Regions from separate parts of the Homo sapiens genome. Here region 1 is linked to region 2. Evidence: promoter capture Hi-C in human tissues and cell types (Jung and others, 2019). All regions are on one chromosome and are shown on one strand. Each heading gives the region's core, a stretch centred on a gene start or on the middle of the fragment in contact. The rest is flanking DNA. Distances are from core to core; before and after follow the strand shown.

Region 1 (2,700 bases), core at 37-2,536, 70 kb after region 2:
TGTAGCTGATAAGTGTGTCCTAGCATGGTGATTTGAGCAAATAGAGCACCTTTTCTTTTCCTTTTCTTCAAATAGCCATGCTGTCTTTTGCAGCAGTTGCTGGTGACGGAATACCATAAATCCCCAGGCCTCTACCACAGAGCTTACATCTTTAGATGTGGGTTTACATGTTAATCCTACAATGTTATTTCACCTCAGTGGTCTGAAGTGCGCACACAGTACATTTTGTTCTTTAACTTCCTCTTTTCTTGTCTAACTGGAAGTCCCCAAATGTGTGGATTTAGAAATGAGTTCTCTAGTGTTTCTAGTTTTGAGTTAAGGAAGTTTTGTCTTGATATTGTTTAGGTGGTTGTTTTTGTTCTGTGCCTTCAAAAATAATTTCTTACAGAATTTTCTGTGTGAACTGGTGACATCATATGCTGTAGTGTAAAGCTTGTAGAGAAGGGGGCATTGGTGTCTTTTTGTTGTTGTTGACACTTTATCACTCCTTATAACTGACACAAACCCTGAGAAGAGAAACAGGAAGGAAACTCCCTGTTCTTACCATGATGCTTTTGTTCAAAATAGCTGAAAACAGCAGAGCTGACGGAAACCAATTTGAGTGTGACAGCTGATTTGAGAAAGAATGAATTAAGAGATTCAGGCTCTTCTGCTATGTTGAAATCATTTTTACTGAAAGATTAGCTGTTTGGAACAGGGATTGACTTTGTCTCTCTGAAAGTAGGCATGAAGAGTTCGGTTAGAGGAACCGTTACAGATGGAGGAGAAACTTGAGGAAAGGTCTTTCCTGTAGTGTGACTACAGTATTAACATTCCCAGATTATATGAAAGAGAAAGGAAGCTTCATTAAATGAAACATTGGAATCAGGAAGACTCCGGCTTGGCTCCCTGAGCATTCTAACTTGTTCTGAGCCTAGTCTCGACAGAAGTAGCCTGACACAAGTGGCTCAGATCAAGGGTCCATATTACGGGCAGAGTAAAAATAGGTCCCAGTTTCATTAGACTTCTCATACATTTAAGGAAAAAAAGATTTGTTGCCATAGGAACAGACCAGTTGTTTTCTGTCTTGTGGGATTTTAGGAGCTGGGGAGATAGGAGGATCCCTGTGCTTATAATCTAAACATCAGTAAATGCTGGTTTTTTTTAAAACAACAACAACTTTATCTTTTATGATTCTGAAACCTATCCACGATAAAAATCATTGGAAAGTATGAAAAATATAATGATGCTGAAGGTATTTTTCATAATTCTTTTTTTTTTTTTTTTTTGGAGACAAGGTCTCTCGCTCCGTCGCCCAAGCTGGAGTACAGTGGCACGATCTCAGCTCACTGCAGCCTCTATCAGGCTTAAGCAGTTCTTCTGTCTCAGCCTTCATAGTAGCTGGGACTACAGGTGCACACCACCACGTCCAGCTAATTTTTGTATTTTTAGTACAGACAGGGTTTTGCCATGTTGCCCAGGCTAGTCTCGAACTCCTGAGCTCACATCATCTGCCTGCCTCGGCCTGCCGGAGTGCCAGGATTACAGGCATCAACCACCATGCCCGGCCTTATTTTTCATAATTCTTATCACCCATTTACTTGAGCTTATACCATAATGATTTTATATCATTCTTTTTTGCTTAACATTTATTATAAGCTTATTTCATGACATTAAAAACGTGTAAATACCTTTATTGTATCCCAGCATTGGAATATGTCATTATTATCTCTTGCCCAATTGTTAATATTTGAATTTTCAATTTTTTAACAATACAAATAAGGAAGTATAAATTTTTGTGTTGTTGTTAGAGTGATGGGTTATTTATGTGTTCAGATTTGAGTAGTCAAGTGGGCCCTCTAATTTAAAAAGTTACCAAGGGGATTCTCTGGGTTGAGCCCACGTAGAGATGGCTTTGCTATGGGCATTATCATTCTGAACTGCTTCATTGCAGTAGATGTCTGCTGAGGCAAGGAATGGGGAATTCGGGAGAACCCTGGTTTCCCCATAAGGGACCTAAGGAACATAAGGGACATAAGGAACAGCTTTATGGGTCATACCACAGCAAGATGGGCCGGCACTTTCACATTGAGAGGTGACAGCGTGCTGGCAGCCCTCACAGCCCTCGCTCGCTCTCGGTGCCTCCTCGGCCTTGGCACCCACTCTGGCCGCACTTGAGGAGCCCTTCAGCCCACTGCTGCACTGTGGGAGCCCCTTCCTGGGCTGGCCGAGGCCGGAGCTGGCTCCCTCGGCTTGCGGGGAGGTGTGGAGGGAGCCAGCTCCGGGAACCGGGGCTGTGTGCCGCACTTGTGGGCCAGCTGGAGTTCCGGGTGGGCATGGGCTTGGCGGGCCCCGCACTTGGAGCAGCCGGCCAGCCCTGCTGGCCCTGGGCAATGAGGGGCTTAGCACCTGGGCCAGCGGCTGCAGAGGGTGTGCTGGGTCCCCCAGCAGTGCCGGCCCACCGGCGCTGCGCTGGATTTCTCACCGGGCCTTAGCTGCCTTCCCACGGGGCAGGGCTCGGGACCTGCAGCCCGCCATGCCTGAGCCTCCCCCCACCTCTGTGGGCTCCTGTGCAGCCTGAGCCTCCCCAACGAGACCGCCCCCTGCTCCACGGCACCCGGTCCCATCAACCACCCAAGGGCTGAGGTGTGTGGGCGCACAGCGCGGGACTGGCGGGCAGCTCCACCTGCAGCCCCAGTGCGAGATCCACTGGATGAAGCC
Region 2 (2,700 bases), core at 111-2,610:
CATGGTCACTGAGAGTGGGCGGCGGCGCCAGGAGTCCGCCCTGGATCTGCCCGACTCCTTCCACTGTGCCAGTTTGCCCTTGCGCGGTCGCGGTGGGGAATAGATGGAGACGTGGACAGCTCAAATAAATCACAGATGGAATGTAAGGTTGTGCCTAGCAGGCTGCCGGCCCTCAGTGAGCGGTGGCTCGGGTTGTTGTTCTTACGTGAACGACAGGCAGAGACAGCGCCTCCTCCTCTCCCCATGGTGCGGGAAAACCCGACGGGAAAGTGGGGGAGGCGCAGAGAAAGGAGGTGTAGGGAGGTGAAGCGGGTACTATCTTCCCACTCGGAGCGCCCCTTCGGCAGCACAGCTGCCCGGTCCTCCCTCTGCTAAGCCCTGACTGCTGCAGGGGAGCAGGAGGAGCCGGCACCTCCCAGAAAGCAGACCCTCTCTCTGGATCCCGTTTGCCTGCAATTCAATGCCCCTGGGTGGGTGTGAGGTTTCAGGGAGGTCACAAGTCATATCAAGATGAGGCGAGCTCACAGCTGGAGAGTCTCCATCCTGCTGCCCATCTCTGAACAGATCAGAGATCTTAAAAGGCGGCCCTTTTAAGAGGCCAGCTCGGACCCAGGCAGGGGTCCCGGTGCCCACGACCTCCCCAGGCCGCGAAGTGCCAGGCTGGCGCCCCGCAGGCGAGCTCGAAACCACACCCAGCACCCGACCGGGCCCAGTCTCTGCCCTACCCGCGCGCCCGCAGCCCCCGGCGGCCCTCGGAAGGGAGACGTGGGTAGGCGGGCAGGGCCGAGAGGCCGCCTCGGGGCGACAGCGGCGTCTGGTTGGAGCCGGCGCCCCCTGGGAGGCGGCGGGGGCGGAGGCTGCGCAGCGGGTGAATGAGCACCATTGTATGCCCCGCCACCTGGGCTCCCCGGGCTGCCAGGACCGGGCGCCAGCTCCTGCCCCACGCTGCCTGTCCCGGGCCGGGCCGCGCGTCTGGGGACGGGTCCCGTTTGACTCTCCGGCTCAGCCACCTCCATTCACGGTGCCGCGATGGGCACCATGTATGCACCCACCGAGGGGACCTGCCCGCGGCGCTGTCCTCAGGTGGCCTCTCGGGCTAGGGGTGTCAGTAGGCGCGGGACACAGGCAGAGCTCCTCCATCCCGGACTCCAGACCCCGCACCCTGGACCCTGGCAGCGGAGGGGCTGCGAAACTTACAATCTGCGCCAGAGCGAGCACTACCACCTGGAGGAGAACAAGGAGGCTGCGGGGGGAGGCCGTAGCGGCGGCCATGGCTGGCGGCGAGACCAAGGGGGACGGGTGCGTGTCCGCGCACGCACCGACGGCAGAGTCTCCCGGCGCTCCTCCAGCGCTGGCTGTTCGCGGGCAGGGTGGGCTGGGGCTCCTGAATATGCGGGGGGCGGGGCGGGGGCCGGCGTGAGCTGTCACCTGAGAGGACCGGCGGGGTTGCCGGGAGGGAGGCCGGCGCCAGGCATCCAGCTCCGCCCCGCTCGGTCCAGCCTCCTGCGCCCACCCTCTGTCCTCGAGGGGCGACCGGGGTGCGGGTCGGAGATGATGGTCCAGTTTCTTTGTGAGAAGGCATAAGGCCGTCTGAGGTTCCCCTCGGGACCTTCAGGCCCCAGCACCTTCCCCCTGACGCACAGCCTGTGCCCCATCACTTACCCTACGTCCTCTCCAGGGCCCAGGCCGAGAGCACCTCGGGCTCTGCAGATCTTGCTGCAGGCTCTCCCCAGCTCCCGCCCACCTTGCTCCCCTCTCCTCTGGCTCCTTCCTCTCCAAGCACAAACAAACAGGCCTTTTCCATATTAATATGCCACAGTCCTTCCTGGATCAGCCGTCTCATGAATACTCCATCGGCCTCTTCCAGCTCTTTAGTGGAGCTGTGTGCACCTCCCCCACCCCCGAACTTCCTCACCTCGCTTTCACCTCCCTACTCTGTCCCAACAAGCAAATCTGTCTCCTGGAGGTCTGCAGTGAAGCCCAACCCTTCTTCGGTCCTCCAGGCAGGAAGCTGTTGGCATCTTCACCTGCCCTTGAAGTCTTCCCCATCCAAGCTCCTGCCATCCAGCTCCCCTTTTTCTATTGCCTTTAATTCTCTGCAGCTGCCTTAAGCACTGGTGTGTTTAGGATTGGGCCTTCTCACTCCATGTTCATAGAAACAACTACCACTTTATTCACCAGAGTTTCCGAACCCCGCTGTCCAGCATAGCCCGACTCCAGAGAGCCTTCCCTTCCCTCCCACTCACTTAGGCAATATTGGTAAAATGCTTTGGAATCTGACTTTTTCACAATTATAGATATGACCACAGGCACCCCAAACTCTATGAAGTCTCATTTTCCTCATCTGTAAAATGGGGATACTAATAGTCCATATATATATATATATATATTTTTTTTTTAAGACAGAGTCTTAAAAGGCTCTGGAGTGCAGTGGCACGATGTCAGCTAACTGCAACCTCGCCTCGCGGGTTCAAATGATTCCCCTGCCTCAGCCTCTCGAGTAGCTGGAATTACAGGCATGAGCCACAATGCCTGGCTAATTTTTATATTTTTAGTAGAGATGGGGTTTCGCCATGTTGGCCAGACTGCTCTTGAACTCCTGACTTCAGGTGATCTGCCTGCCTCAGCCTCCCAAAGTGTTGGGATTACAGGCATGAGCCACCGTGCCCAGCAAATTGTCCTTATCTTAAAGGGTTTTTG

What was found. Contacts are between HindIII fragments. The study calls those that stand out against the background at their distance.
Region 1: a fragment that was not itself captured here is called in contact with the fragment with the promoter of COL9A2 in region 2 in 2 of the 25 tissues and cell types used here (H1 embryonic stem cells and mesenchymal stem cells).

What each region holds. Positions count from the first base shown.
Region 1 is chr1:40,385,604-40,388,303 of GRCh38, forward strand. The region is part of intron 1 of SMAP2 (small ArfGAP2); the gene reads left to right. Among named protein-coding and RNA genes, the nearest start is that of SMAP2, 13 kb to the left of the region's middle. RefSeq lists an enhancer at 142-411. The HindIII fragment of the contact is 3,706 bases long and covers 1-2,700 here.
Region 2 is chr1:40,315,926-40,318,625 of GRCh38, forward strand. It overlaps COL9A2 (collagen type IX alpha 2 chain), which reads right to left and starts at 1,361. Exons shown (of 32, transcript NM_001852.4): 1 at 1,198-1,361. The coding sequence starts at 1,272. RefSeq lists enhancers at 219-855, 856-1,492 and a silencer at 536-1,045. The HindIII fragment of the contact is 32,999 bases long and covers 1-2,700 here.